Linked DNA regions of Homo sapiens: regions 2, 3, 4, 5, 6 and 7 are each linked to region 1. Evidence: promoter capture Hi-C in 16 types of primary human blood cells and fetal thymus (Javierre and others, 2016). All regions are on one chromosome and are shown on one strand. Each heading gives the region's core, a stretch centred on a gene start or on the middle of the fragment in contact. The rest is flanking DNA. Distances are from core to core; before and after follow the strand shown. Region 1 holds the start of DHRS3 (dehydrogenase/reductase 3). Region 2 overlaps TNFRSF8 (TNF receptor superfamily member 8). Region 3 overlaps VPS13D (vacuolar protein sorting 13 homolog D). Region 4 overlaps VPS13D (vacuolar protein sorting 13 homolog D). Region 5 overlaps VPS13D (vacuolar protein sorting 13 homolog D). Region 6 overlaps VPS13D (vacuolar protein sorting 13 homolog D). Region 7 overlaps VPS13D (vacuolar protein sorting 13 homolog D).

What was found. Contacts are between HindIII fragments. The CHiCAGO score rates a contact against its expected background, and 5 or more counts as called.
Region 2: a contact is called between a fragment that was not itself captured here and the fragment with the promoter of DHRS3 in region 1, in 1 of 17 cell types (fetal thymus). The highest score is 5.1, in fetal thymus.
Region 3: a fragment that was not itself captured here is called in contact with the fragment with the promoter of DHRS3 in region 1 in 1 of 17 cell types (fetal thymus); the score reaches 6.3 in fetal thymus.
Region 4: a contact is called between a fragment that was not itself captured here and the fragment with the promoter of DHRS3 in region 1, in 10 of 17 cell types (fetal thymus, naive B cells, naive CD4 T cells and 7 more). The highest score is 11.1, in fetal thymus.
Region 5: a fragment that was not itself captured here is called in contact with the fragment with the promoter of DHRS3 in region 1 in 16 of 17 cell types (fetal thymus, activated CD4 T cells, total B cells and 13 more); the score reaches 23.0 in fetal thymus.
Region 6: a contact is called between a fragment that was not itself captured here and the fragment with the promoter of DHRS3 in region 1, in 16 of 17 cell types (activated CD4 T cells, non-activated CD4 T cells, naive CD4 T cells and 13 more). The highest score is 22.3, in activated CD4 T cells.
Region 7: a fragment that was not itself captured here is called in contact with the fragment with the promoter of DHRS3 in region 1 in 13 of 17 cell types (total CD4 T cells, endothelial precursors, non-activated CD4 T cells and 10 more); the score reaches 10.4 in total CD4 T cells.

The regions. Positions count from the first base shown.
Region 1 is chr1:12,616,675-12,619,626 of GRCh38, reverse strand. DHRS3 (dehydrogenase/reductase 3) reads left to right here and starts at 1,417. Exons shown (of 6, transcript NM_004753.7): 1 at 1,417-2,473. The coding sequence starts at 2,279. RefSeq lists enhancers at 1-528, 529-1,160, 1,161-1,792. The HindIII fragment of the contact is 18,116 bases long and covers 1-2,952 here.
Region 2 is chr1:12,109,608-12,112,559 of GRCh38, reverse strand. It overlaps TNFRSF8 (TNF receptor superfamily member 8), which reads right to left. Exons shown (of 15, transcript NM_001243.5): 5 at 2,904-2,952; 6 at 2,356-2,519; 7 at 546-662. Among named protein-coding and RNA genes, the nearest start is that of TNFRSF8, 48 kb to the right of the region's middle. The HindIII fragment of the contact is 4,166 bases long and covers 1-2,952 here.
Region 3 is chr1:12,233,308-12,236,259 of GRCh38, reverse strand. VPS13D (vacuolar protein sorting 13 homolog D) reads right to left here. Exons shown (of 70, transcript NM_015378.4): 2 at 1,897-2,069. The coding sequence starts at 1,993. Among named protein-coding and RNA genes, the nearest start is that of VPS13D, 4.8 kb to the right of the region's middle. The HindIII fragment of the contact is 296 bases long and covers 1,321-1,616 here.
Region 4 is chr1:12,270,289-12,273,240 of GRCh38, reverse strand. VPS13D (vacuolar protein sorting 13 homolog D) reads right to left here. Exons shown (of 70, transcript NM_015378.4): 17 at 2,117-2,247; 18 at 106-238. Among named protein-coding and RNA genes, the nearest start is that of VPS13D, 42 kb to the right of the region's middle. The HindIII fragment of the contact is 1,700 bases long and covers 645-2,344 here.
Region 5 is chr1:12,308,747-12,311,698 of GRCh38, reverse strand. It overlaps VPS13D (vacuolar protein sorting 13 homolog D), which reads right to left. Exons shown (of 70, transcript NM_015378.4): 28 at 74-245. Among named protein-coding and RNA genes, the nearest start is that of VPS13D, 80 kb to the right of the region's middle. The HindIII fragment of the contact is 346 bases long and covers 1,244-1,589 here.
Region 6 is chr1:12,336,597-12,339,548 of GRCh38, reverse strand. VPS13D (vacuolar protein sorting 13 homolog D) reads right to left here. Exons shown (of 70, transcript NM_015378.4): 40 at 1,244-1,318. Among named protein-coding and RNA genes, the nearest start is that of VPS13D, 110 kb to the right of the region's middle. The HindIII fragment of the contact is 2,060 bases long and covers 347-2,406 here.
Region 7 is chr1:12,360,323-12,363,274 of GRCh38, reverse strand. VPS13D (vacuolar protein sorting 13 homolog D) reads right to left here. Exons shown (of 70, transcript NM_015378.4): 51 at 425-555; 52 at 28-203. The region is part of intron 1 of LOC124903845 (a long non-coding RNA gene); the gene reads left to right. Among named protein-coding and RNA genes, the nearest start is that of VPS13D, 130 kb to the right of the region's middle. The HindIII fragment of the contact is 2,176 bases long and covers 463-2,638 here.

The DNA of each region.
Region 1 (2,952 bases), core at 168-2,667:
CCCCCGATTGCAAGGTCAGGGGAAGGACTGTGTCAGAATATAGGCCCTCAGTGCAGGACAGTTGCTCATCCTAAGCCTCTCCTGCCTTTTGCTCTTCCAGTGGCTTTTCACCCAGAAGGAAGATCCTCCCCTGCAGAACCTCTCCCCAGAACTAGGTCTTTGCAGGTGACGAGGTAATCCCAGCCTCCCCTCCCCGCAGATCAGCGTTTTTCGAAGTGACTTTCTCACCAGGCGGAGCATTGAAAGTACCGATCCCAGCGCACCCAGCCCTGCTGAATCAGAATCTCTGGGGGTGAGGCCCAGGAATCGCCGTCTGAACAAGTCGCGGGCTGGAAACGGCTGCCCCAGATTACAGGGCAGCTCCCTGCTTCGCTCTCGCTCCTCCGGCCCCGGGAACGTGCAGGGGGGCGGGAGGCAAGTCCCATCAGCACTTTGAACTGGGGCTGCTTTTTAGTGACTCACCTCCCAGACTTCCTGCAACAGACAACTCTAAATAGCTCGGTCCCACCCTCCAGCAGGGGAGACATTCCGGTCGGGAAGGGCAGGAGGTTAGAAGGTGGGTGCCCCGCCAGGGCAGTCCAGGGAGACCCAAGGACAGGAGACGCTGGCTGCACAGCACAGGGGCGCACGAATAGGACGTTTTGTTTACAGGCTTTTGTTATTAAGGAAATTGGTGTCAGTCAAGGTAATTCTAGCTCAGATGAGCAATAAATATGCTCCCAGCTAATCTTGTGGGGATTTTATTGGCACTCGGAGCAGAGGTTCCTTTACCTTGACTACTCCCTCCCCTCAAAGCAAAGTCCTGCTCCCCAGCGGCTTCCCCCTAAGCATCGTGAGGCACTTGGGTCAGGCTTTTAAAAGTCCACTCTACGTGAACACAGAAGAGGTCCGGGCAAAGGTGAGGAGTGGCTTCCTGATCCTACCTGGAGGCCGAGGATGACCAAATGACCTGAAATAAAACCCTGGGTGACCTGGTTGGATCAAGGCATACGCAAGCTCCCCCGGGCCTGCTCCACACTCGGGGTGATCACCTGGCCCGCGGGCGGCCCGGGCAAGGAGGAACGTCTCGAGAAGGCAGCCGGCTCGCCGGAGTCGGTTCCAGCGTGTTCGAGTTACAGCTGCGAGCCCTCAGGGACACCGGCGGCAAGTCCCGGCTTGCAGAGAGGGGAGCCAGTCCCGGGAGAGCGCGAGTCCCGGCGAGCCCGAGTGCGCGCCTTATGCGCGCTCCCCGCGACGGCGCAGGGGGAGGGGAGGCCGCAGCAGCCACTCAGAGGAACGGTAGTGAAGCCTCCCAACAACTTTAACTGTCAATCAGACTTAATGGGGTATTGAAAAAATGGGGGAAAAAGGGGCCGCCCTCTCCGCGACGCGGCTGCCCGGGGAGCGAATGAATAGGGCCGCGCAGACCAAGGCGTCCGATCCACGCGCGCTCCACACCCGGACCCTCTCCAAGTTGGAAAGGACAAAAAGAAGGCAATAAATGCTAAAAAGGGAGAGAAGGGGAGCTGGATCGAGCGGCAACTCCCAGCCTCTGCTGGAACAGAGAGGGAGGGAGGGAGCCGGAGCGAGCGAGCGCGCGCGAGGGCGAGCGCTGCACGTAAAGAAACTGACACCCGGACCCCCCACTTCTCCTGCACGTTGCTGGCAATCAGATCGCGTTTAAGCAATTTCCTGAGCCCAAGAATAGCAATGAGTCGGGAGACTTTCGCGGGCTGAAATTGGGAGCTCCAAGCACTTTTTCCCCCCACTTTTTTTTTTTTTTTTTTTCTGGAGACGGGGTGGGGGTGGGGGCGCTACAATTTGGAATCAGCTTTTTTTTTTTTTTTTTTTTTTTTTTTAATCTTGCACTTTGAAACCGCGGGACCGAGGCAGGGTGCGCGCGTGTGGTTGGTGCCTTTTTTTTTTTTTCTTCCCCTCCCTAAACTCCTCTGTCAGTCTGTAAACATTACCTGAGAATTCCCCAGCCGAAACGGCTGCTGGGGCAAGAAACTTCTTGTTAGAACTTTCCACCTCCGGCTTCCCCCTCCACCTCTTTTACCGTCCCAACCTTAGGAGACGCTTTTTCTCCCCCAGAGGAGAATTTATCTTTTTTTTTTTTTTTTTTTTCTTTTTCTCACCCGGTGCTTTGCATTTGGGAAGAGGTGATTTCAAGAGTGGCCAGGTGGGACGCCTCTCTCCTCCTTATTCGGTTTACTATTTATTGTTCGGGGTGTTTTTTAATTCCTGTATTGCTCGGCCCGGGGAGTTTCGCCCCCTGCCCGGCTCCGCGGCGCGGAGGATGGTGTGGAAACGGCTGGGCGCGCTGGTGATGTTCCCTCTACAGATGATCTATCTGGTGGTGAAAGCAGCCGTCGGACTGGTGCTGCCCGCCAAGCTGCGGGACCTGTCGCGGGAGAACGTCCTCATCACCGGCGGCGGGAGAGGCATCGGGCGTCAGCTCGCCCGCGAGTTCGCGGAGCGCGGCGCCAGAAAGGTACCAGGCACTGCGACTCCAGGGAGTGGGGGGCCGCAGGGGCGGGGGTAAGCCCACCTGCTGCCGCTGCGGGATCCCGCGCCCGGGAGCTGAGAGTCGCCGGCCACCCCACTTCTCCGCGCCACCCACGAGTGCTGAGCTAGTCGGTTTCACCTTGTAAATTTCCCGGGCACCGGACTGTCTTTTTTGGCAGGTTCAGAGTTGATCCGCTCCTTTGGGATCGGTGGCTGGCTGACTGGCTATTCACCCCCACCCTGAAACCTAAGAGACCCACCATTTCCCACATTCCTGCCTCCCAAAGGAAGGTGTTGTGCCCCCCTCCCCCGCCTTCCCCCCTTTTTCTTGCCGCCACCCTGGTGAGTGCAGGGTGTGCGCACTCCTGGGTAGAGCTGGGAGCCGCCTGCTAGCTGGCGCCTCGTATTTTCCTTGGCAACCCGCTACCCAGCCCCAACCTGGGCGGCTGCAGCTCTGAAGACACG
Region 2 (2,952 bases), core at 205-2,704, 510 kb after region 1:
TAATTAGCCAGGCATGGTAGTGTGCACCTATAGTCCCAGCCACTTGAAAGGCTGAGGCAAAAGGATCATGTGATCCTGGGAGGTCACAGCTGCAGGGAGCTATGATCCCACCACCGTACTGCAGCTTGGGTGAAGGAGTGAGACCCTGTCTGGGAAAAAAAAAAAAAGAATAAGTGGCTCATAGGGGCAGCGAGTGGAGTGGACGAGAACCTGGAACCTGGTGGCACCTGTCTGGGTTCAAACTCCAGCCCACAGCCCTTGGAAGTTCCCTGACTTCCCAAAGCCTCCGTTTCCTCCTCTGTAAAAGGGGAATGATCACAATGCTTGAATCACAGAGTAGTTACAAACATTGATGAGCCGAGTTTGGAACAGGTGGGTGATTCACAAACGCTTCCTGGAAGGAAATAATATGCCAATGGAAGCCCTCTGAAAAGAGGCGACCCCCATCAAAAACCCACAAACATAAGGGGGAGTAGTTACTGGAAGTTCACGGTTCAAAAATGCAGAGAGGTAAACTGAGGCCCGGGGAGGGACGAGGCCCTTACCTCGAGAACAGCTCACGCAGGCCGTGCAGCGGCCGGCCTCGTCCAGGTAGTAGTCGGGCTCACACTGCTTTCTGCAATCACCAGACCCCTCTGGGCATGGCTGTGTTGGGGACAGACCTGGGGAAAGAAGCAGAGAAGCTGCAGGCCAGGCCGCCTTGGCAAAGGCCTCACTCCCCACCCAACCCTGAAGCCCCCCATCCCTCACCGTGGCCAGCTCCCAAACTCCGCATGTCAGCTCAGTCCAGCCTTTCAGAGGGAGTCCTGAGGCTCAGAGAGGACAGGAATGCTGCGTGCATTCCACACGAGAGGAGGGTACTCATTGCCCCCCAACCAGCCCCTGCCCACTGTTCCTCCTGAGGCCACCATGCCACAGCTTCCCCCAACCCTGTCTCATGGCTCTGTCACTCCCCTGCTCAAAACTTTGGGAACAGCTTCCCTGAGAGCTCAGCACACTAGCGTAACTCCTGTTCAGAATGGTATTGGGCAGGGAGGGGCTGGGTGCCTCCTGCCTCCCTCTTTTAAAGACTGGTGTGGGCCGGGCGCGGTGGCTCACGTCTGTAATCCCAGCACTTTGGGAGGCTGAGGCGGGTGGATTACTTGAGGCCAGGAGTTTGTGACCAGCCTGGCCAACATGGTGAAACCCCGTCTCTACTAAAAAAAAGAAAAGTAGCCAAATGTGGTGGCAGGCGCCTGTAATCCCAGCTACTCGGGAGGCTGAGGCAGGAGAATTGCTTGAACCCAGGAGGCGGAGGTTGCAGTGAGCCGAGATCACGCCACTGCACTCCAGTCTGGGCGACAGAGCAAGACTCACCTCAAAAAAACAAACCACAAACAAACAAACAAAAGACATCATAGAGAGAATAAGCAAAGCCATGGAGCGGGAGAAGGTACAACTATAGGAAAAGAGCTCCAACCCAAAATTGTTAGAAGTCCCACAAATCCATTTTTTTTACAAAACCAACCCAAGAGAAAGGAAAGCACATACACGCAAAGATGTATTTTTCTTTCTTCATTATAGTCAAAAGGCAGAAACAACCCAAATATTCAAAAACTGGATAAACAGAGCTCGGCATATCTACGCCATGGAGGGCTATTCAGTAATAAAATGGGACTAGGTTGGGCGCGGTGGCTCACGCCTGTAATCCTCCCAGCACTTTGGGAGGCCGAGGTGGGCGGATCACCTGAGGTCGGGAGTTCGAGACCAGCCTGACCAACATGGTGAAATCCCATCTCTACTAAAAATACAAAGTTAGCCAGGCGTGGTGGTGGGCACCTGTAATCCCAGCTACTCAGGAGGCTGAGGCAGGAGAATCGCTTGAACCCAGGAGGTGGAGGTGGCAGTGAGCCGAGATTGCGCCACTGCACTCCAGCCTGGGCAACATGAGCGAAACTCCGTCTCAAAAAAAAGAAAAAGAAAAATGACTGAGGGTCGACCCTTCGCCATGGAGACCAGGAGGGCATCAGATGGACACGTGCAGAGGCTGGCCAGCTGAGTCGCAAGTGTCACAACAGCAGAGTGGGACCCATTTCCCTCTGACAAACCAACGTAGAGGGAAATAGAGGGAGAGATGGGGCACGGGTGTCCGGCACAAGGCAGGCCCTCTGCACTGCTGGCAAATGAATGAGCCCTCTGGTGTCTACCTCTGCCCCTCAATGCTTTCAGCCCTAGATCATACCTTACCACCGTCTTCTCTCCCCACCAGGAAAAGACCACAGATCACTGCCCGCCTGCTCCAAACACCCCCACTCATGGGCCATCCACCAATCGAGCACCCCAGGGAGACGACCCACAGCTTCATGGGGAAATTACCTGGATCTGAACTAGGCCTTCCCACAGAGGAGGGAGAGTCGGGAGCCCTCGTCAGTTTAGAAGCAGCTTCCTGGGCGAGGCGGGTGCCCCCTCTTACAGGCATGGTGCTGGCACTGGAGGTTGCTGGGGACACCGGGGTGGGCTTGGCCTGGGGGATGGTGCCACTGGGGAAGAAGCCAGAGATGGGACTGATAATTCTGCCAATGGGGCAAGGGAGGCCTGTGCTCACGAGTAACAGTTTCCACAGAGATGGGGTCCCAGGCCCTTGGCCCACTGCCTCTGGCGGGCCCACTGTAAGCTCCTGGGAGCAAGGCCTGTGTTTTCTAAGCCCTGTGGGTCTCCCATGTGCTCAGGGCAGGGCTGGGCACACCCTAGGGCCTCAAATGATCTGAGGGGCTTGGCAGAGAGGCACCCCAAAGTGCTGACACCATGGGCTGAATCCCGCTTACACCCCCAGCCCAGTTGTACCATGGGCGTCCTGTGGGGTGGGGCAGCCTCATCTGAAAGCCAGCTTGGGGGAAGAGGAGGAGGCAAAGCCAGGGAGTCACCTGGAGGGTTCCTTGCAGTTCTCTGGGCTGGCACAGGCAGGGCTGACCC
Region 3 (2,952 bases), core at 219-2,718, 380 kb after region 1:
TTGTTCTGGCCACGCTCTGTGATGTGCTTTGGATCCATAAGCATTGGGTACCATACTAACACCAGTTACAAAAGAAAAAGCATTGTTCTACCCTGCGGAGAAGCATTCTTCAAGTTCCACAGGTTCATTAAAAGCCATAAAGAATAATGTTTTTAGAAAGGAAATAAGGGCAGAAAAGCAGTTTAAAGTACCAGATAAACACAGTTGTTACAAGATACATTCTAAAACTGCTGAGAAATGTTAGTACGACTCTGTAACACATCAGATATCCATTTCTATTTACTCATTTCTTTGGCAAATGCTCTTGCCACATGATTCCTGACAGAACCAGCTCTTTGATTAGCAGGGTCGTGGTCTGCAGCTCTCTTTCTAGGCCCTGTTATCTATACGTCATACAACGTAGTTAGCTTCACAGTGGGTCTGAGAACTTCAATAAGAGACCAGAGAGGTGAACTTGACACTACTATTGCACTTTGAATGCATCCTCTTCCCTGACAGACTGCTCACTCGCACTTTCCACTTAGCTCCCGTTTCAGGACAAGAGGAAAACCAGGAGAATAGGAAAGGAAAGGAAGAGAGTGGGGAGGCGTGACCATGACGGCTCTGCCCATGGCCTAGCGCTGCCACAATCATTTGGTCAGAAAAACATGAAAAGCAACACTTTTTTTTTATTTTTTATTTTTTGCGATGGAGTTTCACTCTTGTTGCCCAGGCTGGAGTGCAGTGGTGTGACCTCGGCTCACTGCAACCTCCGCCTTCTGGTTTCAAGCGATTCTCCTGCCTCAGCCTCCCGAGTAGTGGGATTACAGGCACCCGCCACCACACCCAGCTAATTTTTGTATTTTTAGTAGAGACAGGTTTCACCATGTTGGCCAGGCTGGTCTCAAACTCCTGACCTCGTGATCCGCCTGCCTTAGCTTCCCAAAGTACTGGGATTACAGGCATGAGCCACCGCGCCTGGCCGGAAAGCAACACATTTAATGGAACATGTGAACCACCGGTACTCTATTCTCAGACTACGCAAACAGCTGTGTCACTGTTCTCTCTAACCTGCTCTGGTCCACTTACCAAAACTCACATCCACAAAGGTGAGGTTTCACTGTATTTGAAGTCTCCTTCCCATTTCCTATGATTTTACACACGTGGCAAACTGACTTTCTTCTCTTCCCTACGTATGTTAAAAAGCTCCATTTTGAGCTGAGCAAAGAGAATTTAAATTAAAACAAGGAAAGGGAGAAAATGCAGTTTTCGAATTCCCATGCCAAATCAGGGACTGCATTTACCAAGTCTAGGCCTGTAAAGGGTAAAATGTCTGAAGCTTCAGGTACTCTACTACTAAGCAAGTCAAAACCTCAGAAATTCTGTTGAACACCTCACAATAATCAATTTTAAAACTTTTATTGAGTGCTTACTATATGCCAGCAGGCTAGGGGCTTTAAATGTTATTCCAGTTGATCCTTAAAGCAACCCTCTGGAGGTATATTATCTCTGTCTAAGAAACTGAGGCTTGGAATTTCAATATGAGCTATTGTTCACATAGCTAATAAGTGACAAAACAGTATTTGAAGCCAAAGTCAATGCCACTGTCGGTACATTGTGGCTGCCTCCATAAAGCTTCATAAAGCTAAAAGTTAACTGGGACTAAGCACAGTCACCAGTAGTGTAGCTTATTTTGTTTTTGTTTTTTAATATTTAATAGTTCCTTAAAATCTACAACAATATAGCTATAAACTTAAGTTACTCTGGAAAAATCATCAGGATGATATGGGACCTTTTTACATACATTTAGTACAAAGCCATCTGGGCATTAGGTTTTATGATTCTCAGGACAACAAAAAAAATACAAAAATAGAAACGCCACCTATAAAGCTGTATCTCACCCAGAGAAATACTCACCTTTGAGAAGTGCAACTGAGAGCTGGTCAGTGTTCAGGTTATTGACATATTTTCCCAAATAGGTATTGAGAACCCAGGCTACAAGGCCTTCCAACATGACTATATCCTCAGGAAAAGGTGTTTAGAAATCATGGATCATTCTTTATTTCTCTCTTTCATGGTCACAGAAAAATCTATGAAAGGAAAATAATGAAAATCAACATAAAAACAGGATGATTTTCTAAGCCAATTTCCTCCTCTACCTGCCTGAAGGTAGATGAATGCAAAGCACAGATGTTTTGTTGGGTTTTGTTTGTTTGTGTTTTTGTTTTTGTTTTGAGACAGTTTCGCTCTCGTCACCCAGGCTGGGGTGCAGTGGCACAATCTCGGCTCACTGCAATCTCTGCCTCCCGGGTTCAAGCGATTCTCCTGCCTCAGCCTCCCAAGTAGCTGGGATGACAGCTGCCCACCACCACACCCAGCTGATTTTTTGTATTTTTAGTAGAGATGGGGTTTCACCATGTTGACCAGCCTGTCCCAAACTCCTGACCTCAGGTGATCCACCCGCCTCAGCCACCCAAAGTGCTGGGATTACAGGCATGAGCCACTGCGCCCGGCTGCAGATGTTTTAAAAGATGAGGCAAGAAGCTCTGTAAGATGTCCCCATCAGTAACTGGAGGGCCAAACCAAAACACCTACATTCTGATGCTGCTTCAGGGAATAGTCACTCTTAAATTTACCAAAAATTACCTACAATTCAAAGCTGTCTATCTTTTCAGTGTAACTGTCCATTGCTTGCTTATGTTGATTTACCTTGGGATTAGACTGCCGTGATCAGAGGTTCTCCTATGGGCATAATTTAGTAATCTCTGGAGGCATTTTTTATCATGACTTAGGGGCTGCTACTGGCATCTTGTGAATAAAGACCACGGAAGCTGCTAAACCTACAACACACAAGACAGCTCCCACAGCAAAGAATTATCCAACCCAAATGTCAACAGAGCCAATGTTAAGAAACCTTATCCTAGATTAAGACAGAAAATGCCGTAAGAGATTGTCTGAATGAAATTCATGAAA
Region 4 (2,952 bases), core at 245-2,744, 350 kb after region 1:
TATAAAAATGTTACATAAACATTTTATTAAGCTTTACTTAGATAATCATAGATAGATCATCCATCTACCAAGGCAGGTTTTCATTATTTCCCACTCACACTATACCTTGGGTGTTCGTCAAAAGCATTCTTCCTAGATCCACGACAACTAACACAGGATTCTTGAATTTGAAATCATCAGGAAATATCACCTGAGGGGCAGAAATATCCAGCCGCACGGTCCATCGTTTACTCTCCTCCTGTACAAATAAAACAGTCATTAACCATAACTGCCGAAACCCAACAGCTTTATCCATGGTGCTCAAGCATTTCTGGAAGCTGCAGCTAGGATTATGGAGTGACTCAGTGATCTAATGTATTACAGCAAAAAGTCTAAGACAAAAGTAGATGTAAATGCTTGAGGATCTGAGAAATTACCACAGACAAGTATCTGAACAGGGGAGAAAAAAAATAGCAAATAACTAAATAGGGGAGAGTCTGTACTTAAGAAAGATTTTGTTTCTAATTTACAGGGTTTAATACTTTAAAGGATTATAGAAATTATAGAATTCAAATAAACATAGAATTCTAAACATTTTTACTTATTCAGGGGCATTGGTAACCATGAACTTCCATGCCAAAATATCTTAGTGAGAAACATAAGCTTTGACATTTGAAATATAAATAACACACCAATTCATGATTTGTTCATTGTTCTTCCCTCCAACCAAAATCAGCCTCAACTGTATGTATGTGGCAAAAGCTAATTTACATTACCAAAAAGAAACCTCTTTTGTTTACAAGAATACTAATTGTCATACTTTATGTAGAAACACACACACACACACACACACACACACACACACACACCAAAACAAAAAACAGGACTAATTCTCCATCCCATACTACACACCACATTTTACTTGGATCATTTCTGCTTCTCTGACACCTATAACTTACTCTGCACTGTCCAAAAGAAGCCACACTTTTTCTCACTGTGCCACCTGCTGCTGTATTGTAGCAGTGCACCTCCATGTCACCTGAGAAACTGTGCTTTACTGGACTATTTTGATTTCTTGAGACAAGGTCTCACTCTGTCACCCAGGCTAGAGGGCAGATCATAGCTCACTGCACCCTCCAATTCCTGGGCTCAAGCAATCCTCCCGCCTCAGCCTCCTGAACAGCTGGGACTACAGGTATGTGCTACCAGGCCCAGCTAATTTTTTTATTTTTTGTAGAGACAAGGTCTCACTATGTTGCCCAGGCTGGTCTCGAACTCCTGAGCTCAAACGATCATCCCACCTCCGCTTCCCCCAGTGCCAGGATTATAGGCATGGGCCACCTTGCCCAGCCTACCTACTGGACTGTGAAGATGTCTCTTGGCCCTCCCTATCTATGGCATCCTCATGGCAGCTGGCCATTTGGCATCACAAAGTACCTAATCATCACACCCTAGAATAGAAGCTGGGGCATCATTCCAGTTGTCTCTTCTGGTAACAGTAAGCAAAAAAGAGAAACTCTCACATGAAACATGCACAAAGTATCAGGTCTGGAAAATGGAACAAACACGAGTCTTTTTTTTTTCTTCTTCTTTTTGAGACAGTCTCACTCTGTTGCCCAGGCTGGAGTGCAGTGGTGCAATCTCGACTCACTGCAACCTCCGCCTCCCAGGTTCAAGTGATTCTCCTGCCTCCGCCTCCTGAGCAGCTGGGATTACAGGGACCCACCACCATGCCCAGCTAATTCTTGTATTTTTAGTAGAGATGGGGTTTCACCATGTTGGCCAGGCTGGTCTCGAACTCCTGACCTCAAGTGATCTGCCCACCTCAGCCTCCCAAAGTGCTGGGATTACAGGTGTGAGCCATAGCACCCAGCACAAAGATGAGTCTTGAAAGTAACCTCATCCTGGTGCAAGGAGACACAGAATCTAGTCACAGTCATTCATTTTATTAGCTAAACCCTGACTATAAAAGACACAAGATTCTATTCTATGCTAGCTGATAAGGATTTAATATTTTCAGTTTACTCAGTCAGCATAATTGATATAAGTAAGCCTATCTACAGTAAGTAGTGACTTGACGGAAAGAATTCCTGCCCCTTCCCCAATCCCCAAAGAGTGTTTATGGATGCCCACTTACAATGAAATCACCCACTAGCAAACGATCAAGAGTTTGCCGGATTTCTGCCTTGGTCTGCATCTTCAGCTTGTTATATTGTCTTCGGGCAGCTTCAGCCACTCTCAGCTCAAGTTCAGACTGATAACCAAAACCTGCAAGGTTGGAAATACACAGCAGAGTCAGAATTTTCACACGGCTGGGTGAACAAAAGTGCTACATCAATTCTCACCAAGAATGTCCATCAAAGCTTAAAAAAAAAAAAATCAGGCTGGGCATGGTGGCTCACACTCGTAATCCCAGCACTTTGGGAGGCCAAGGCAGGAGGATGCCTGAGCCCAGGAGACTGAGGCTGCAGTGAGCCGTGATCACGCCACTGCACTCTAGCCTGGGGTGACAGAGCAAGACCCTGTCTCAAGGAAAAAAACAAATCAGTAACAACAGTTTCTTACTCCAGTATGACCTGGCATAATACAGGGTAACAGGAATGAGACAAAAAAGCGTAAGTGAATGGACAGCCATGGGGGGAGAGGAGGCAAGTGAGAGAAGTGTACCTAAGTTACTAGAATTTCTTAAGCCATTTTCTGAAAGATTCCAAACTACTATATTTCAAAATTCTTAAAAAGCACTGAAAGAGAAAATGGAATTTCAAAGGAAATGCCTTCTATATTCTTTTTTTTCTCTTCTTCTTCTTTTTTAAGACAAAGTCCCGCTCTGTCTCCTAGGCTGGAGTGCAGTGGCATGATCTTGGCTCACTGCAGCCTCCGCCTCCCAGGTTCAAGCGAGTCTCCTGCCTCCCGAGTAGCTGGGATTACAGGTGCACACCACCACACCCAGCTAATTTTTGTATTTTTAGTAGA
Region 5 (2,952 bases), core at 167-2,666, 310 kb after region 1:
TGAGGAATAGATACACAGGGTGACCGTCAGCTGAGACTATGAGAGTGACAGAAGAACATAAGGTCTCACTCACATGAATTCTTGGATCTTGTAAATCATAAGGCCGCATAAATTCCTCTATGGGTTCTCCCAGGTTGTTCTCTAATAAGCCGCGGATCAGCTTGTATTTATACAGATCCAGAGAGCAGTGGACTGAGGAGAGATTGCCATGGATAGATATGTCTGGCACAGTATGACTTATTTCTCTATGAAAAAGAAAAAAGATCACTTACACAGACAAGTCACTAACTTAACACTGACATAGCTCACGCCCAAACAACGGGGCTAAAATGTACTCACCTACATTATCAAGTAGGTAATTCCTACTTCCAATGACAAAAATTTCATGTAGCTCCAAATGAAGCAAGTTAATATGACTGTCATGCTTCAACTACAAAAAGCCCCTTTTCTCCCAAAATTTACATTTAGAAAATCCTCAAACCAGGCCAGGTGTGGTGGCTCACACCTATAATCCCAGCACTTTGGGAGGCTGAGGTGGGAGGATCACTTGAGCCCAGGAGTTCGAGACCAGCCTGGACAACATAGTGAAACCCCATCTCTACAAAAAATGCAAAAATTAACTGGGCATGGTGGTGTGCACTTGTGGTCCCAGCTACTCAGGAGGCTGAGGTGGGGGTTCACTTGAGCCCAGGAAGTCAAGGGTGCAGTAAGCTGTGATCGTGCCACTGTATTCCAGCCTGTGTGACAGAGTGAGACCCTGTGGGAGGGAGAGAGGGAGAGAGGGAGGGAAGGAGGGAAGGAGGGAAGGAGGGAAGGAGGGAAGGAGGGAAGGAGGGAAGGAAGGAAGGAGGGAAGGAGGGAAGGAAGGAAGGAGGGAAGGAGGGAGGGAGGGAGGGAGGGAGGGAAGGAAGGAAGGAAGGAAGGAAGGAGCAAGAAATGGAGGGAGGGAAATCCTTAAACCTAGTATGAGGTAACTAATCTATTAATAAGGAAAACCTCATGAGACTCACAAAGAGCTTAAATATTACACTTGGGAAAGCAATAAAGAAAAGATGCCAAGATCTTTATTTAACTCTTTGGATTTAGTGGTAACTAAAGGCAAACACCAGTGTTTCATACTGAGCCCAGATGGGACATGAGGATAAACTCTGAATAGGTTCGTCATCTCAGCTGGGATGGACAGAAGTAAAGTTGAAGAGGGGGAGGGGCACACATCTGTACCTCATCTCAATACTAAAAAGCTTTCTCTAACCTCCCATGGGTGAACTGGGCATTGTGAATCCTACAGACACTATGCTCTAAGTATAGAGAGGGCTAGTGTTTGAAATGGCAGAGGTATATAAGAAAAGTTATTTTGTCTGCAGAGAAAAGCCGACATACAACAGAGTTTTAAAAGACAATGATGCAATAACAAAGAAAAACAGAGACGGCTGACCAAGTGCCATCTCGGGTTGCTGTGTGTGCAGTGTGAGACTGACAGGACACCTTGCATTCAGCATCACCTTCTATCAGGCCTAACAGAATACAATTATCTGCACAGAAACACTGATGGGAGTGGGGAAAGTTTAGATAAGCTGAATAGGAAAGCTTTTTTTTTGTTTTTTGGAAAGCATTGCTTGAAAAGAAAACAAAGTGTTCAATTTCTAAATAACGAAGCTCCTCTTAAGACTGCTTAGCCAGTAAAACCAAATATAGCCCATGCCAACCATAACTGAACACCAGCCAGGGAGCACTTGAATAACACGTAAGACTGAAACACAAACATCCCAGTGAGAACAGCTAAGTTGTATCATTAATCCAGAAAGAAACTAAAAAAGTGACATTAAATGACTTGCCCAAACCAAGAACTGTGAAGGGAGTGGCCAAAAAGAGATTCAAATCATGCTCTATACAAATAATAAACCTGTTTTTCTTTCTTTCTTTTTTTTTTTTTTTTTGAGACTGAGTCTTGCTCTGTCACCCAGGCTGAAGTGCAGCGGCTCAATCTAGGCTCACTGCAACCTCCACCTCCCTGGTATAATCAATTCTCCTGCCTCAGCCTTCCCGGTAGCTGGGATTACAGGCACACGCCACCATGCCTGGCTAATTTTTGTATTTTTTTTTTAGTAGAGACGGGGTTTCACCATGTTGGCCAGGCTGGTCTTGAACTCCTGAACTTGTGATCTGCCGCCTCGACCTCCCAAAGTGCTGGGATTACAGGCATGAGCCACCATGTCCATATGCCAAGGCGGGCATGCCAAGGCAGGTGGATCACGAGGTCAAGAGATCGAGACCATCCTGGCCAACATGGTGAAACCCCATCTCTACTAAAAACACAAAAATTAGCTGGGTGTGGTGGCATGCGCCTGTAATCTCAGCTACTTGGGAGGCTGAGGAAGGAGAATCGCTTGAACCCGGGAGGTGGAGGTTGCAGTGAGCTGAGATCTCGCCACTATACTCCAGCCTGGTGACAGAGTGAGACTCCATCTCAAAAAAAAAAAAAAAAAGAAAAAAAAGATCAAATCAAACATTAAATTAGAATCATGTGCTTAACTACCTGTATCCCTCAACAAAACATAAGTTCCTTCAAAGGAATTAGTTTTCTCTTTCATCACAGTAGCCCTCATGTTCAGCACATAGTAGGGACTCAATAAACATTTGTTAAATAGACGAAGAAATAAGTGAATAACTAGTTCTTCCAAACTTATCTTAATAGCACTGATTTCCACGTTAAGATTCTACTTATCATAGACAGTTATTCAGATATAAAACATTGGCTGGGCATGGTGGCTCACGCCTGTAATCCCAGCACTTTGGGAGGCTGAGGCAGGCAGAACACCTGAGGTCAGGAGTTCAAGACCACAACATGGTAAAACCCCATCTCTACTAAAAATACAAAAATTAGCCGGGCATGGTAGCATGTGCCTGTAATCCCAGCTACTTGGGAGGCTGAGGCTGAGGAGAATCACTTGA
Region 6 (2,952 bases), core at 127-2,626, 280 kb after region 1:
CAAACCCAATTTCTTCATGGGCTGAGAGAGAGTCTAAAGCTACCCGTATCCAAGTTCAGCTTCAAACAGCTCCAGCTAAGGAAATTTCTACCCCTTCGGACTTGTTTCACACAGTAATTTTGCCATTATAAACAGTGTAGGTTGTCATGCTATGTAAGCAGCTCAGTCCATCAGAAAGGACCTGGTTTGTAAATCATAAGAAGCAGATTAAAATACTAGGTTTGCTACTAGGAGGTCAAGTGAATAAAGGCAAATCACCTAGTGTCTCTGAACCTCACTGTCCTTATCAGCTAAATAGGAATAATGCTTGGCTAAGCCTGAAAGATTAAGTAACATATAGAAAGCTTAGAAGCAGGAATACACAAATAAATTAAGATTCAGCTCTGGGCTTTCTTTGTGAGCCCTCCCTCAAACATCCACCCTGGTAAAATTGTCCAGAAAAAAAAAACCCAGGGCAATGTACCCTGAGTATTAACATCCCTGTTCTATATTCCTGGTAGAGGGAGTTCCTGTGGTCTCTTTCTATTTAAAAAAATCATGACGAATAATCTGGAATTTGCCATGTACACACATAAATCATTCAGATTAAACTGCACTCCCTAAAACAAAAACTGAACATCTTGGGACTCCAATTCCTCAATGATTATGGTGTTTTCTACCACATTCACTTACCAGTGAATTTCTCAAGAAACTTTCAAAGATCAGAGATAGAAATAAAGAAAATTTTCTTTTTTATCTCCTAAACACAAAAACTGACATCCAAAGAAATTAAGGTTTGTGTCTAAGCAATTATTTACTGAGAATTTTTTTTCCGCTATCCCTATTATTATAGTGCCTGTTGCAGAGCCCCATGCCTTCCCATGAGAATTTTCAGTGGGTATTTTATAAACTTAAGACTTGTGGCACCACTGCTTGATGAAGCATGGTGCTCCTCAATCCACTTGCTCTTCAATATGAGAAATCACCTCTAACTGACATTGTATTAACATATTTCTGCATCATACACTGTGGAGTTTATTCCATTTCCACCAAAGTTAAGGGAGATGGAAGGGAAACAATATAAGAATCAGCTGATAATATGCACCACTCTGTTCATCAGTTGGAAATGTTCTTTCCTATTACTAAAGTACTCACGACATGGAATACCCCCAATTCAACTCCCACTCATTAAAAAAAAAATTGATGTACAAGGAAGTTCTTAAAACAGGAAAATAAAGCAAGCCCTCGCTTGGCTATACTGTACCTCTAGCATAGATCTGGTGCTCTAGGTTAGTCAGACTGGCTGTACTCCTAGTTCTAAGGTAGACAAGGGGGAGGCCTGGTAGACAGGAGAGACAAAGTTAGAGGCTAAGAATAAATACAGTGAAATAAGAAGACTTGCTTCCAAACGATAAGCACAAATAGAGAACATTACAAAAATAGCAAGCATCATGCAAGTACAGAGTCATTCCCATCAGTGATTACTAAGCACTACGAATGTACTTGACAAAGTGAACACATTTTTATGCTAGTTTTTATTGTGGAGGCTGGATCAAAGTAACATGCTTTTTTTTTTTTTTTCCTGAATTAGAAGAATATGTATTGAACCTTCTCTTGAACAGAATGACGAGCCTTTTGAAGATTTTTAATTTAAAGGTGTTATGTTCTTAAATGGCATTAAAAAGTTACAAAAATCCATCAGTACAGATTTTAGTGAAGGTTGCTCCATTCCAACTGGTAAAACACAGAAGTAAAATGCCAGTCTCAGGGGATCTCAAAAATTCAGGGGAAGAGTCAGTATGTGTTCCAAATTTAAACAATCTCTACCAAGGAGTTGTCTCATAGTGTTTATTTAAATTCTAAATCAAGCATGGAAGTTTTCAGAATATTTGATATTTTCATAAAATGTCCTTGGAATACAAAACTAATAAATTCAATGAAGTGCCACACCGCCCAGGTTTACCTGCAAAATCTCAGCCCTGACTGAACAAAGCCAACAATTTTGTCAAAAGGAGGCTGGTATTTTCTTTCCCCTGATAAAGAAACAGTGAGAAAGCAGCAGGTCCCTTAGGCTAAATTTCATGTTAAGGGCTATTCCCAAGAGCTTGTTTTAAGGCCAGTCTGAATAAAAAGCATAACTTTTGTAGGAATATGACTTACTATTCTTGAATAAGACCTGAAAGTTTATGATTAGTTCAACAAGGTTGAACCCTACTCACTTTCAAAATAAATTCCCAATGATCATTTTAGTAGGCCTGCTAAAAGAATACAATCCTGGAATGTACTGTACTACCATCCAGGAATTTCCAATAAGAAAAGAGGTTTGGAAATTTATGCATATTCAAGTTATGTCTTATTAAAAAGATAGATTACACTTTTATAAGCCTAAGTAATCATAAAAATCTTTAAATAAATAAAAATCAAGCTTTAACTCAGCACCAGCATTTAATATAGATGAGGAAGCCTTTTAACTATAGAGAAAGAGAGAGGGACAAAAATTTTAAAAAGGAAGGAAGAAAGGGAGGCAGGGAGGGAAGAAGGAAAGAAGAAAGAGAGGGACAAGAAAATCTTTCATCAGAATCTTGCAGACCAGGCCTTGCTAGAGTTTGACTCTGAATTGAAGATGCCCCTGCATGAATAATGTTTTAGAAACACACTCTCTTGGACATATTACAAAGATTATTTAGAGTCTTCTGGGTAGACTATGTTACATTTTCTTGACACACAAATTGGGAAGGTTGGAGGAGGAGCTAAAATCAAAGCTGACAATATCTGAAAAGCCCTGGCTCCTAAGTAATGACCTTGAGACTCAGAAGCAACAGCCTGGGAAAACAGAGAACAAGCACAGCTGACATTTCTTTGTGTCTCTTTCTAGAAGTACAAGGCAGACAGAAAGTCCACTTATTCACCCTGAGGAGAGATGAACCAGTACAATTACTTCACACACTAAGAACACCCAATCTTCCCATGACA
Region 7 (2,952 bases), core at 301-2,800, 260 kb after region 1:
TGTCTATATTTAGAGTCTCAAACTTACCTCATGTTGATATGGAAGGAATTATTCTTGTTGACTTCAAAGCCTCCAGACCAAATACAATTGGGAACGTCCATCAGTCTGACACACAATAGCTGATCATAGTCATTCCGAGGCCAGTGGAACACCACACTGGAACCAGGAAGGGTGGAAATGTAACCTTCGGGATTGGCTGTTCCCTAAAACACATAGGATCACAGGCTTTAGTCAACAAGTCGATTCATGACAATAAGTGTTACTGAGTACCTACTCTGAGCCTTACCCTCTAACAGGAGCTATCTGGGTACCAAAGGCACAGAGCAGTTACTTGCATCACAGAACGTACAGTCTTCACAGAAGATGACATTAAAACTCGTGCTATTAAATAGGCACTCTCATCCTTCAAAAGCAAACTGCTCACCTGTCCCCTGGCAAATTCCCTCTGTGCAAATGCAAGCTTGTGAGATGATTTATTATCTAACAGGTAACGGGGGGCAAAGATGACCATGCAGGTATCAATGTATCGACCTCGGCCTTTCTTGACATCAATACCTACAAATAACAAGAACCACTTTTATGAGTTAACCATGAAGAGAGAAAACTCTTGGTCTGACAAAAATAAATAACCTTCACAGTTACTTAGTTTCTCTGAGAAAATAACTGTATCACCCAGAGGATATTGAACCTTCTAGGAATGTAATGAAAACAGCAATTGTACTCAAAGTATTATTACTCCTTATTCCCATTTAGGCCTTAAAAAGGTTCAGAGGCAAGATCAACATCCCCTTAATTCCTAGTTTCTTCACACAGTGTGTACCATTTAACAGCAACTAAAATACACAGGTGTCCAGTCACATATATGTTAGGTTTCCATTTATGAAGCTGAATACTTACAACAGTTTCACATGATACTTTTTGGCTTACACCTGGGACACAAAATTTCCTTCTAGAGAACCTGCCACTTTTACAGATACAGTGGAAATTTCAGATTACTTTCTTGGATTCTGTAATGTTCTAAACTTTACTGACTCTTCTCCAGTATTTTATTTTAGCCCATTGCCCAAGAATCCAGCTCAAACATAATGCTAAGTACTATAGAACTTATTCATGGCCGGGTGTGGTGGCTCATGCCTGTAATCCCAGCACTTTGGGAGGCCGAGATGGGTGGATCATTTGAGGTCAGGAGTTCAAGACCAGCCTGGCCAACATGGCGAAACCCCATCTCTACTAAAAATACAAAAATTAGCTGGGCATGGTGGCACGCACCTGTAGTCTCAGCTACTCGGGAGGCTGAGGCAAGAAAGAGAATTGCTTGAACTTGGGAGGCAGAGGTTGCAATGAGCCAAGATTGCACCATTACACTCTAGTCTGGGTGACAGTGTGAGACTCCGTCTCAAAAAATAAATAAATAAAAGAATTTATTCATCTATAAAATTACTGTTTTCAGCGCCTACTATGTATTAGGAAAAAATAAGAAAACAGTCCAAAGGAAATCTCAAGACAGCCGGTTCCAAATATAGAAAAGCACTGAAATATCTTAAAAACTCTGATAACAATTTTTAAAAATAAAAAATTCAGGCCGGGCGTGGTGGCTCACGCCTGTAATCCCAGCACTTTGGGAGGCCGAGGCGGGCGGATCACGAGGTCAGGAGATCGAGACCATCCCGGCTAAAACGGTGAAACCCCGTCTCTACTAAAAATACAAAAAATTAGCCGGGCGTAGTGGCGGGCGCCTGTAGTCCCAGCTACTTGGGAGGCTGAGGCAGGAGAATGGCGTGGACCCGGGAGGCGGAGCTTGCAGTGAGCCGAGATCCCGCCACTGCACTCCAGCCTGGGCGACAGAGCGAGACTCCGTCTCAAAAAAAAAATAAATAAATAAATAAATAAATAAATAAATAAAAATAAAAATAAAAAATTCAGTGGGATGAATTTATTCACTCATTCATTCAGACAATAAATACAGCAATGACATTCAACGTACTGGGCTGAGCTCTGGTCACCCATTGATAAAAATATTTATCATAGAAATAATAAAAATAACAACAACAACAACAATAATAATAATTACTGGTCTCTTAATACATGCTAGGTCCTCCCCCAAAGGCTTTACACTGAATCCCCATAACAACCTTCTAAGTTAGATATTTTAATTATTTCCATTTTATAGATGAGGAAACGAAGGCATGGAAAGCTAAGTAACTGACTCTATGTCACGCAGCTAGTATGTGCCATAACTGGGATTCAAGTCCAGGCAGTCAGCCTCCGGAGCAGCACCCTCATCAGGCTTGCTTGTATTGTGATGCGACATATACAAGGACTGCACTCCATTCAGCAGTCATCAAGTATCAAGAGAACCATTAAAATAGAAAACTCCACCTTAGCATTTGACAACCGGCTGTCATAGATTTCTCAACACAATCCCAATTATAAATATTCCAATCTGTAAATGCCGTAATTCACTTAAACTGGCTTGAAAATGCTGATGTTCCTTTAACACAAGCCTTGAAAATACCTGAAAGACTGAGAAAAGTCACACACAAAAATCTCTCTAAAACTCTGTATCTAAGAAATGCTATGTAATATTGGGATATGGAACTATACCCTATCACTTCTTTCTGTGACATGCAGAGAAGCTTTCATTGTCAGAAATCAACATTATCATAGTTAGGTGATATCTAATAAAAAGTCTAACTACAAAAGATGTATCTAATTTAATATTATAAAAAGAGTCTAGGGTACTCTGAACAATACAGACACTCAATCTTTGGAAAAAGGTGGGCTTCTTTCCCCCTTCACATCTTATATTGCCCTGGGAAACCCCTGATAAATCAATAAGTTGATAAGATCAACAGGCACAAAATCGTTCTTTTTGGAGATCCATGTGAGGCTACCTGGCAAGCCTGTCCCTGGCTTTTCAGTTTGGACTATGCTTTAAACTTTCCTGATAGG